Linked DNA regions of Homo sapiens: region 1 is linked to region 2. Evidence: promoter capture Hi-C in 16 types of primary human blood cells and fetal thymus (Javierre and others, 2016). All regions are on one chromosome and are shown on one strand. Each heading gives the region's core, a stretch centred on a gene start or on the middle of the fragment in contact. The rest is flanking DNA. Distances are from core to core; before and after follow the strand shown.

Region 1 (6,273 bases), core at 211-2,710, 480 kb after region 2:
CGCCACCAGGCCTGGCTAATTTTTGTATTTTTTAGGAGAGACTGGGTTTCACCACGTTGGCCAGGCTGGTCTTGAACTCCTGACCTCAGGTGATCTGCCCGCCTCGGCCTCCCAAAGTGCTGCGATTACAGGCACGAACCACCGCACCCAGCCAGGACACACAAAATTCTAACATGAATTCTTCTAACAGTGTCTTGTAATGATCTGATTATGTCACATCTAAGAAGCCAAGCTCACCATGCAGGGGATTCCTCTCTATCCTCAAAGTACAGTAAATCATCTCTCAAAGGAAGGAGAACCTTTACATTTCCAAATGCAGAAATTCAAATCTGGGAGTGGCCAAGTGAGAGCTCTGGGAACCATTACAAAGCCTCCCCCACCTCACTCCCTAGTCCTGAGGAAAGGGCTTCTTTGGGGAAGATTTCATGTTGTTCTTAAATATTTTTTGTTTTCATACACACCTCACCTACCATTTCTATGTACAGAACCAGGCTTTGAAAAAAGAAATCTTGAAGTGTTATTTCTGTGGATTAGAAAAGTTCTTTCCCTGAGCCACCAGGATTAGGTGACAAATTGGAATAGAAGCTTTATATGTGGTTTCTGTGCTAATGCTGCCCCCTAGGGATGGAAAGTTACAAGGCACCGAGACACCAGCTTGACTGCTCTGGGAGAGACCACACATAGCTGCCGGCTTTTTACTATACTATGGGGACCAGGGCTTCGAGGACAGAGTGGGAGGGTAAAGTCTTTCTGGAATAAATCAAAGTTCAATTTTATCTTTATCATAGTAACTACAAACAAAACTACCAATTCCCTTAGTTACTCAAATACAGACGACTGTTTCTCTCGAATGGCTGTTTAACAGAATCACCGAGACTATATCAGCAACGCCTAGGCAATGGCATCATGTGGACATTTATATAAAAATTCCAAGACCAAGGCCGGGCGCGGTAGCTCACATCTGTAATCCCAGCACTTTGGGAGGCCGAGACAGGCGGATCCCGAGGTCAGGAGATCGAGACGATCCTGGCTAACACGGTGAAACCCCGTTTCTACTAAAAATACAAAAAAATTAGCCGGGCGTGGTGGCGGGCGCCTGTAGTCCCAGCTACTCGGGAGGCTGAGGCAGGAGAATGGCGTGAACCTGGGAGGCAGAGCTTGCAGTGAGTGGAGATCACGCCACTGCACTCCAGCCTGGGCGACAGAGTGAGACTCCGTCTCAAAAAAAAAAAAAAAAAAAATCCGAAACCAGTATGTGAGCTCCTACTAAGGACTATGGGTCCTGCTCTGCAGTGGGGACACACATTAAGTGTAATATACAGTTAAGACATGATTGTAAGTGCTGAGGAGAAAAAAATAAAGGAAGAATGCACTGGGGTGGAGAGGGGGAAATAGTTCACGATTATAAACTGGTGGTCAGGGAAGGCCTCTCTGCGAAGGTGCATGTAAGTGAAGACTTAAGAAAGGCGAGGGAGAGAGTCTGGTGCTATCTGGGGGAAAGAATTCCAGGCACCAGGAACAGGGAGGAGCAGGGTGGGCAGAGCTGTAAGGTGGAGAGGAGGGTTGGGTTTGCAGGCTGCCTGGGGCCTGAGCCCAGAGTAAACAGATGCTGAAGAAGAGCCTCTGCAATGGCTGTGCATGAGGTTGATTCCCAAAGAACCCCACCTGCAGGGATCCCTTTCACGGGGAGCTCTCAAGCCTTCTGAGCTGCGCCTCTGAAGGTGGGGCCTCTCCCGCCTTCCTGCCGAGCTTCTCACAGCCTGGAAAGGGCAGGAGGGGAGGCTGTGACTAAGCCCCTTCCAAAGGATTTGCTCCCCATAGATGCTCCATACAATACAGGTTGTGGAACCGAAGTTACTACAGCAATGACTTTTTTTTTTTTTTTTTTGAGACAGGGTCTCATTCTGTCACCCAGGCTGGGGTGCAGTCAGTGGTGCCATCATAGCTCACTGGGCTCAAGCCTGGGCTCAAGTGATCCTGCCCCCTCAGTGCCCAGAGTAGCTGTGACCACAGGCACATGCCACCATACCTGGCTAATTTTTTGTACAGACCAGGTCTTGCTATGTTGCTCAGACTGGTCTCAAACTCCTGGGCTCAAAGGATGCACCCGCCTCGGCCTCCCATATGCTGGGATTACAGTTGTGAGGCACTGTGCCTGGCCAGCCATGACTTTTAAACTATAAACTGTGGCCCTATGGTGGGTTGTAAAGTCACTTCAGTAGATTATGACTAGTGGATTTAAAGTTAGAACAAAAATACTAGGGCACATTCCATGTGTCAAGTATTTGTTTTATAAAACTGTTTCTGTTCCACCTATATTTATTTATGTTTGGATGAAGCTTATGGTAATTTATATTTCTTACTATAGGTCACAAACAAAAAAGTTTAAAAGCCATTAATTTAGAATTCATTCAGAATTAAAGTTTCTTTAAAAAGGCACCAAAAGGCTCATTCTCACAATAGGAAGTCCCAAGGATCACTGCCAGGAACTGAAAACCAGCCCCATCTCTAGTTACCCTGGAGGTGACTCTGCTGATAAGGAACAATGCCCGGGAACCAGGGGAACCCCCCAGCCTTCTCCATCCTGCAGGAGCAGGGCCATGCATAGGAAGCAGATCTAATCATTTCAAACTGTCAAATAGAAACACTGTTATCACTTGGGCAGAAACAAGCCAGGCTGACCTTGTCTTTGCTCACTGCTTGGGCTACCTCTGGGCTTCCCAGGGTTTTGCTGGGAATCTTGGCCTGGCAGGAACAGCCAGCAAAACCAGCTCCTGCCTGCTGGAACTCCACTGTCAGCATGCCCTGGAAGAGAGGCTGCAGATTCCAGGAAGCCTCCTTCCAGGTAGGACAAAGACCATCTTGACACTCCTCCTCATGCCCAGGCTGACAACAGCTGGACTTAAAGTCACTGGATCAGATTGGGGAAAGGAGCCACTGGGGTCTGGGCATGGGATGGGAAGGAGGAAGTCGAGGCTTCATCCTGAGTCATTCAGCAGAAGTGCTGGTTCCAGGGTACAGCGCAGCTTCAAGCTGAGCAGGTAACTTCGCGTTGGTATTTTAGGGCGCTGTGTAAAGATGGCAGTAATTCATGTATCCAGGGACAGAAGAATACAAAGCTGTCTGAACTTGGGGTTGACAATACCCCTTTGTGGATATCAGACAGGACATCTTGCAAGGTACTGTTTATATAGCAGGCATAGAAAAGCGGCTGCCCCTGGTAGTTTTTCACATTCTCATAAAAATCAAATCCCTTCTCAGAGTAAATAGCAAAGCGGACTTTTTTTTTTTTTTTTGAGATGGAGTCTCGCTCCGTTGGCCCCGGCTGGAGTGCAGTGGCGCAATCTTGGCTCACTGCAAGCTCCGCCTCCCAGGTTCACACCATTCTCCTGCCTCAGCCTCCCGAGTAGTTGGGACTATAGGCACCCACCACCACGCCCGGCTAATGTTTTGTATTTTTAGTAGAGACGGGGTTTCACCGTGTTAGCCAGGATGGTCTTGATTTCCTGACCTCGTGATCTGCCCGCCTCGGCCTCCCAAAGTGCTGGGATTACAGATGTGAGCCACCGTGCCAGGCCACAAAGCGGACTTTTAATCTTTCCCTCCTTGCTAGTGAAATGTGACAAAAAGGGAAGCCTCTCATGGGGACAGGAGATATGAACTGAGGATGAGGGTCAAAGGAGGGAGGAAAAAAGGGTCAACTCGACACAGAAGAATGATAAAAAGTATAGGTGGGAGACACCCAGAGTGGAGGGCTCAGAAGCAGGGCCAGAGATCCCAGTCCCGAGGAAGAACGCTGTTAGGAAGTAGCCGGGGTCTGCTGTTGCCTGCCCTTCCAGGGCTTCATGCCCTTCATTCTCCTGGTTCACAAGATTTGGGCGTTCTAGTCACGGTGTATCTTCCCCATATCTTTACTACGGGAAATAGTAAAACACTATCTAGTTAGCATACTATCCACCTGATGCCTCTAGATGTGACTACTTTCACACCTTCACTCATCCCCACAGGGCTCTTATCCAGCCGAAATCTAGTCATCTCCCCCAGGAATATGAGCAGGAGCATAAGTGATTTTTAGTTCTGTGGACCTAATATTATAAAGAGCATTAGAGAGTATTTCAACGCAGGCAGGTGGCTACAGATGGCCCCCCTTGGTGGAAACTATCCCACCCAGTCCCGTGCTATGCAGGATGGGCAGGACTGTCTGCACCTGCCAGCCTGAGAGGAATATGGGCGGTCGGGCTCCAGCTATACCTACTAAGCAGAGTTGCATCTGACAAGATCTCTGATTCCGACACATAGTAAAGTTGAGAAGCTCTGACCTCTTTTGATCCAGGTCTTGGTTTTGCTGATCCTCTGATACCTCTATTTAGAAAAGAAATGATGAGATCTTTAGAAGACCAATCTTTGCCACTGGCAATCACAGGGAGGCTGACACACTCATTATCCATTCTTTTCAGTGTGGCTGAAAAGACTGGCAGAGTTTACTCAATGCTTATGAAATCATCACTCCATCTTGCCTCAAGTGAAAGATTATATTGACAGATTTAGCAGTAAGAGACCAAAAGATGCTAGAGAGTGAGGTGAGGGGTCTGTTCATGCTTCTAAATCAAGACCTAAACTTTGTATCAAATCTGCCAGATATCACTGTTGAAACTGAGACTGTGTTGGCCAGGTGCAGTGGTTCACGCCTGTAATCCCAGCACTTTGGGAGGCCAAGGTGGGCGGATCACTTGAGGTCAGGAGTTTTGAGACCAGCCTGGCCAACATGGCAAAACCCCATCTACTAAAAATACAAAAATTAGTCCGACATGGTGTTGTGCACTTGTGATCCAAGCTACTCGGGAGGCCGAGGTAGGAGAATTGCTAGAATCTGGGAGGTGGAGATAACATCGAGCTGAGATCGCACCACTGCACTCCAGCCTGGGCAAGACTCCATCTCAAAAAAAAAGAAAGTAAGTGAGATTGTGGATGGTGCGTTTGGAAATCCTTTTTTTTTTTTTGAGATGGAGTCTCGCTCTGCCACCCATGCTGGAGTGCAGTGGCGCGATCTTGGCTCACTGCAACCTCTGCCTCCCAAGTTCGAGCAATTCTCCTGTCTCAGCCTCCCGATTAGCTGGGATTACAGGCACGCACCACCATGCCCAGCTATTTATTTATTTATTTATTTTTAGTAGAGACGGGGCTTCACCATGTTGGCCAGGCTGGTCTCAAACTCCTGACCTCAAGTGAGGCACCCGCCTCGGCCTCCCAAAGTGCTGGAATTACAGGCGTGAGCTACCGTGCCTGCCCTGGAAATCACTTTCATAAACAACCTGGATGTGAGACTTTCAGGATCCATTTCCTGCACATGCACTGCTCCCCTGAGATGACACATGCCTGACCACAGTGCTGCTGCCCGACTGCAGAGGACCCAGCCATGTGATAGTGGGCTCCTCTGATGTGCATAGAGGGGCTGCCAAAAGGAGACACCCAGAACTAGAGGAGAGTGCTGAACTGGTGGTTGGGTAAAAAAAGTCTTTTACTTCCTCTTTTTGCTTATTCTTGGATTTAAATTTTTGGTACAGTTAATCATGTATGAAACAAACCTTAGGAGATTCCATCATTTCACAGAAATGTTTATGAGCAAGAAATTAATGGTATGCCCCTCACCATTCTGACCCCAAAGCATGCTTAATCTCCACCCCTACTGCTTCATTAGTTTCTTCATGTCCGACAACCTAAGGTGACCTTTGGAAGCAAAAGTACAGCTAAGGTGGTGTAACTGGGTCTCGTAACACAGTATGTTGAAATGTGACTTCCCTCTCATCTTTGTTGAGTTGTGTTTTCAGCCTTAATCCATAGCCCAAATTCTCAGTTCCAGTTATGTGGCCTACCCGGGAGGAACTTGTAGTGGTGGCCATATAAGGAGGCCGTCTGTAGCCTTTTTCAGGGGTGAGGGTCCACCCTGGGAAGGCAGGACTCAAGGTCTTCCCAAGACGAACCACCATGCCTCTCCCTTCCCTAGGAGGCCTAGAGTGTTTTCTGTGAACTGCTTGGTTCCGGGGGAGCTGCCGGAGTGGCAGCCTGCTCTGATGTTGCTAATATCATTTGTTATAGCAACAAACGATACTTTTTTCTTTACAGAAACTGCTCTAAATAACACAGATGGACAACAGGATAAAACCTCACCAGAGGCAATATGCCTTTTGCCAGGCTCCCTAAGCTGTGCTCTAGTTAGGCTCAGCAACTGCTCCATGTGCCCATGTGAAGGCTGGAAATCCTGATGAACACAGA
Region 2 (6,517 bases), core at 3,947-6,446:
GCCACCGCGCCTGGCTAATTTTTTGTATTTTTAGTAGAGACGGGGTTTCACCATGTTAGCCAAGATGGTTTTGATCTCCTGACCTCATGATCCGCCCTCCTCGGCCTCCCAAAGTGCTGTGATTGGCAGACTTATTAAAGAAAGTATGAAAGTACATTACCAAGCCAGGTGCGGTGAATCACGCCTGTAATCTCAGCACTTTATTATGAATGCAGTAGCTATGAACATTCTTATTTATGTCTTTTAGTGAAAATATGCACTAATTCTACTGTATATGCACCTAGAAATGCATATACAGTGCATTTGGCCGAGTCAAAAGGTATATATATGTTTAATTTTAGTAAATAGACCGTGCGTGGTGGCCTGAGGTCAGGAATTCAAGACCAGCCTGACCAACAAGGTGAAACCCCGTCTCTACTAAAAATACCAAAATTAGCCGGGCGTGGTGGTGGGTGCCTGTAATGCCAGCTACTTGGGTGGCTGAGACAGGAGAATCGCTGGAACCTAAGAGGTGGAGGCTGAGGTTACAGTGAGCCAAGATTGTGCCACTGCACTCCAGCCTGGGCGACAAGAGCAAAACTCCATTTAAAAAACAAAAAAACAAAAAACAAAAACAAAACTTTAGTAGGTAGTGCCCAAGTTTTCCAAAGTGGTTGAAACAATTTAGACTTTCATCTTGCAGTGAGCCGAGATCGTGCCACTGCACTCCAGCCTGGGCAACAGAGCGAGACTCCATCCACAGTGTATGAGAGTTCCAATTGCGCTCTATGGTCATCCACACTTGGGATTGTCAGTTGCTTTAATTTTAGCCAATTTGGTGGATGCTTAGTAATACCTCATTTGCCCTTAATTTGCATTTTCTTTTTTTGTTTGTTTGTTTGGTTTTTTTGAGATGGAGTCTTGCTCTGTCATCCAGGCTGGAGTGCAGTGGTGTGATCCCGGCTCACTCCAACCTCTGCCTCCCAGGTTAAAGCGATTCTCCTGCCTCAGCCTCCCGAGTAGCTAGGACTATAGGTGCCTACCACCAGGCCCAGCTCATTTTTGTATTTTTAGTAGAGACAGGGTTTCACCGTGTTGGCCAGGCTGGTCTCGAACTCCTGACCTCAGGTGATCCTCCCACCTTGGCCTCCCAAAGTGCTGGGATTACAGGTGTGAGCCACCACACCCAGCCTTAATTTACATTTTCTTAATGAGTATTAACGATGACCACCTTTTCAGGTGCTCATTAACATTCTGATATCCTCTTTTGTGAAGTGCTTGTGTTCAAGTATTTTGCCCAGTTAAAAAAAAAAAAGCTGTCTATATTTTTCTTATTGATGCGCAGAAGTTCTGGGTATAATTCCTTTGTCAAAAATATATATATTGCAGGCCGGGCGTGGTGGCTCATGCCTGTAATCCCAGCACTTTGGGAGGCCAAGGCGGGCAGATCACGAGATCAGGAGATTGAGATCATCCTGGCCAACACAGTGAAACCTCATCTCTACTAAAACACAAAAAATTAGCCTGGTGTGGTGGCACACGCCTGTAGTCCCAGCTACTTGGGAGGCTGAGGCAGGGGAATCGCTTGAACCCTAGAAGCAGAGGTTGCAGTGAGCCGAGATCGCACCACTGCACTCCAGCCTGGTGACAGAGCAAGACTCCGTCTCAAAAAAAAAAAAAAAAAAAAAAAAAAAAAAAATATATATATATATATATATATATATATATATATATAAAATAAATATATGTATCTCTAAATCTTGCCTTTTCTTCCTCTCTTAATGGTCTCTTGAAAATAGCCCATTCTTCTCAATGTTGATGAAGGCCAATCTCTCATTTTGTGGTTACTACTTTTTTTCTTTTGAGACAGAGTCTCGCTCTGTCACCCAGGCTGGAGTGCAGTGGTGCGATCTCAGCTCACTGCAACCTCCACCTCCCGGGTTCACGCCATTCTCCTGCCTCAGCCTCTTGAGTAGCTGGGACCACAGGCACCAGCCACCACACCCGGCTAATTTTTTGTATTTTTAGTAGAGACGGGGTTTCGCCATGTCAGCCAGGATGGTCTCGATCTCCTGACCTCGTGATCTGCCTGTCTTGGCCTCCCAACATGCTGGATTACAGGCGTGAGCCACCGCGCCCGGCCTGTGGTTACTACTTTTTAAAGAACTTGTTTTGTTTTGAGACAGGATCTTGCTCTGTCACCCAGGCTGGAGTGTAGTGGCGCGGTCATAGCTCACTGCAGGCTTGAACTCCCAGGCTCAAGCCATCCTCCCGCCTTAGCCTCTGAAGGAGCTGGGACCACAGGCGCACACCACCACGCCCAGCTAATTTTTGTATTTTTGTAGAGACCGGGTTTCCCCATGTTGCCTAGTCTGGTTTCAAACTCCTGGACTCAAGCAATCCGCCTGCCTCAGCCTCCCAAAGTGTTGGGATTACAGGCATGAGCCAACACATCCGCTTTAAAGTACCTGTTTAGACTACTTTGTTTATCCCAAAATCATGAAGGCATTCTCGTTTCCTTCTAGAAATTCTATTGTTTTTACCTCTCACATCTAGGACTGTAATCCATCTCAAATTAATTTTTGAATATGGTGTGAGGTAGGGGTACTTATTCCTTTTATTGAAAAGACCATCCTTTCCTCAATGATTTCCAATGCGTTCTTGACCCTATAATTAGAATTAACTTCTGTAAGCACTCATTAGATCGTTCCACTTTCCTGCCTGTCTTTAACGGCAGACCATTGCTCTTATGGACAATAATCAGATAATGGTCAGTTCCTTGCGTAACAATACGCAGCTTGATCTGGCCACCTCCTGTCTCTCCTGCCAAATCTTGCCTTGTGTCTGCCTTTCCACTCTGAACATAGAGTTCTTTGGACAGGTCACACCCTCATCCTCAAGCCCTTCCCATATAGAGTGTTTTCATGCCCTTAGACTAGTTACTCAAACTTCAGGTCTCATCTCTTCCAGGAGCCTTCTCAATAGCACAGTCCCTGTCCCTTAAATATAGGTTGTGTGACTTCTATATATGCATTCATGGTCAGGCACAGTGGCTCATGCCTGTAATCCCAGCACTTTGGGAGGCCGAGGCAGGCAGATTACCTGAGGTCGGAAGTTCGAGACCAGCGTGACCAACATGGAGAAATCCCGTCTCCACTAAACATACAAAAATTAACTGGGCGTGATGGTGCACACCTGTAATCCCAGCTACTCGGGAGGCTGAGGCAGGAGAATCACTTGAACCCGGAAGGTGGACGTTGCAGTGAGCCGAGATTGCGCCATCGCACTCCAGCCTGGTCAAGAAGGTGAAATTCCGTCTCAAAAAAAAAAAAAAAAAAAAAAAAAATATATATATATATATATATATATATATATTCGCTCATTGTACCCCCGAGTTTCTAATTATATTTATTTATTTTATTTTTTGAGATGGAGTCTCACTGTGTCGCCCAGGCTGGAGTGCAGTGGCATGATCTCGGCTCACTGCAGCCTTCACCTCCTGGGTTCAAGCAATTCTCCCATCTCAGTCTCCTGAGTAGCTGGGATTACAGGGCCGTGCCACCACAACTGGCTAATATTTTACATTTTTCCTAGAGACAGGGTTTCACCATGTTGGGCAGGCTAGTCTCAAACTCATGACCTCAGGTGATCCACCTGCCTCAGCCTCCCAAAGTGCTGGGGTTACAGGCGTGAGTCACCATGCCCAGCCTATTTTATTTTACTTTTTAGATGGAGTCTCACTCTGTCGTCCGTCCAGGCTGGAGTGCAGAGGTGCAATCTCGGCTCACTGCAACCTCCACCTGTGGGGCTCAAGCAATTCTCCCACCTCAGCCTCCCTAGTAGCTGAGATTACAGGTGCCCACCACCATACCCAGCTAACTTTTGTACTTTTAGTAGAGACGGGGTTTCACCATGTTAGCCAGGCTGGTCTGGAACTCCCGACCTCAGGTGATCCACCCGCCTCAGCCTCCCAAAGTGCTGGGATTACAGGTAAGAGCCACCACACCTGGCCTTCTATTTATATTTAAATATCTCCCCATTATAACTTCTCTGAGGGAAAGGAGGAGGCCTATTTAGTTCACATGAGAGGTGCGTCCTAAATACTGTTGAATGAATGAATAAATTTAAGGGACGATTCTGTCCCAGGAACCCAGACAGTATGGACCTTGGAGAAACAGGACGTTTCCAGTCTCAGATCTAGCACTTGGCTAATAATTATTTCTGAGCCTCGATTTTCAAATCTGTAAAATTAAGATATACTATTCTCTACTTAGGATTGTAATGGGCATCAAATAAGATAATGTGGCTGGGCACAGTGGCTCACATCTGTAATCCCAGTACTTTGGGAGGCCGAGGTGGGAGCATCACTTGAGGCCAGGAGTGCGAGACCAGCCTAGGCAACAGAGTAAGACCCCCCCCGCCCCCACCCCATCTCTACAAAAAACTTAAAAGTTAGCAGGGTGTGGTGGCATGCATTTGTGGTCCCAGCTACTTGGGAGGCTAAGGTGGGAGGATCGCTTGAGCCTGAGTTTGAGGCTGCAGTGAGCTGTGATTGAGCCTCTGCACTCCAGCCTAGGCAACAGAGCGAGACCTTGTCTTTCAAAATAATAAAATGATAAGGTAATGCGCAGAAGCATTCAGCACAGTGATTGGCACATGGAGGGCCCATTGGGGTGTTTTTGTTTTTGTTTTTGTTGTTGTTTGAGACAGAGTCTCGCTCTATGGCCCAGGCTGGATGGATTGCAGTGGCATGATCTCGGCTCACTGCAATCTCCGCCTCCTGGGTTCAAGCGATTATCTTGCCTCAGCCTCCCGAGTAGCTGGGATTACAGGCGTACACCACCAAGCCCGGCTAATTTTTCTTGTATTTTTAGTAGAGACGGGGTTTCACCATGTTGGCCAGGCTGGTCTCGAACTTCTGATCTTAGGTGATCCGCCCGCCTTGGCCTCCCAAAATGCTGGGATTACAGGCCACCGTGCCTGGCCATTGAGTGTTATTAAGAGGAGGGTACGCAGAAAACAGACTCCCGCCAGCTCTGCCCCATGCGCATGAGCGGCCGCCGCTCGCCCTCAGCCAGGCCCAGCGCGCCCCGACGCGTCCCCACGCCTGCGTGATCCACCGGAACCCAAGCCCAGGCAGGCGGTGAGAGGGCGGGGCCTCCGCAGTGCGACTGCGCCGCTCGAGGCCGTGCGTCGCGGGGGCGGGGCCGCGCAGGCGTACCGGGTGCCCCGGCTCTGGAGCATAAACAAGAGCGGGGACGGGATGAGGCGGCGGTTGATCCCAGGGTGGCGAGTGGCGGCGACCGAGGCGGCGAGCGGGGCCCGGCGCCGACCCTGAGTGCAGCCTGACCCGCCCTCGCGCGCGCGCCCTCCCCGGCCGGGCCCACTCGCCGCGCGCCCAGCCATGAACCTGGCGAGCCAGAGCGGGGAGGCCGGCGCCGGCCAGCTGCTCTTCGCCAACTTCAACCAGGACAACACGTAAGGCCGGGGTCGGGGGTCGGAGTCGGGGTGAGGCCAGGGTCGGACCCGGGCTAGGGGGAGGGCCTCGCTGCCAAGCTCGGCGGCGTCGCAGGCTCGGCCTCCCCGCGGGCCAAGGCGCGCAGAGGCGTCCCCAGGGGCGGGCCCGGGGCGTGCAGGGAGGGGCGCCCTCCAGGGAGACCCTCGGGTGCTGGCCTGGAGCTGCGGTCCCGGAGCGGGAGAGGTGGTGGAGAGGGGGCTGCTTTCACCCTCTTGCGGGGAGGCCCCCTGGCTTCAGACTTAACTACTTCTCGCAAAGTTGGGGCCGAACTTTGGGGCTTGACTTGTCTTGGCCGCCTGTGGAGCGCTGGGTGTGGGTCGCTTCCTCTCCTCTCGTCTCCTCTTCCCGCTGCTTGCTCAGCGTCTCCCACTCACTCTCCTTTGAATCAGGCCCTTCTCCTTGTCTTTTCATCGTCTTAAGACCCTTCTCTCTCTCTTGATTTTCTTTTCTTCGTTTCTCACTGTTTTTTTGTTTGTTTTTGTTTTTTGGGGTTTGTTTTGTTTTGAGACAGAGTCTTGCTCTGTTGCCCAGGCTGGAGTGCAGTGGTGCCATCTCAGCTCACTGCAACCTCCGCCTCCTGGGTTCAAGCGATTCTCCTGCCTCAGCCTCCCGAGTAGCTGAGACTACAGGCACGCGCCACTGTGCCCAGCTAACTTTTTTGTATTTGTAGTAGAGACAGGGTTTCACCATGTTGGTCAGGCTGGTCTCAAATTCCTGACCTCAAGTGATCCGCCCACCTCAGCCTCCCAAAGTGCTGGGATTACAGGTGTGAGCCACCGTGCGCGGCCCTCCCTGTTCTTTTTGGGACATCAACTTTGATGTCTTCTCCAGCAAGTAACAAACTTAGCAATAACCTTGGCATCTGACCTAGCTAGGGAGAAACTGAGCCAAGAGAGGCGTTACGGACCAGTGCCCCAGGAGTCTCAGAGCTCCAGCGGGTGGGTCATCCTCAGGGCAAGAGAAGGCCTTAATGCCAGCCCGTGCATTCGGAACGCTGTTTGTCCCCACTGATACGGGTTG

Evidence for each region. The method cuts DNA at HindIII sites, captures the fragments that hold promoters and counts their contacts. A CHiCAGO score of 5 or more calls a contact.
Region 1: a fragment that was not itself captured here is called in contact with the fragment with the promoter of WIPI2 in region 2 in 2 of 17 cell types (erythroblasts and fetal thymus); the score reaches 7.6 in erythroblasts.

The regions. Positions count from the first base shown.
Region 1 is chr7:5,664,945-5,671,217 of GRCh38, forward strand. The region is part of intron 13 of RNF216 (ring finger protein 216); the gene reads right to left. RNF216-IT1 (RNF216 intronic transcript 1) reads right to left here. Exons shown (of 3, transcript NR_046834.1): 2 at 1,666-1,760. Among named protein-coding and RNA genes, the nearest start is that of RNF216-IT1, 12 kb to the right of the region's middle. The HindIII fragment of the contact is 1,754 bases long and covers 584-2,337 here.
Region 2 is chr7:5,185,037-5,191,553 of GRCh38, forward strand. WIPI2 (WD repeat domain, phosphoinositide interacting 2) reads left to right here and starts at 5,197. Exons shown (of 13, transcript NM_015610.4): 1 at 5,197-5,457. The coding sequence starts at 5,384. RefSeq lists silencers at 2,179-2,308, 4,982-5,631, 5,642-5,691. The HindIII fragment of the contact is 15,802 bases long and covers 1-6,517 here.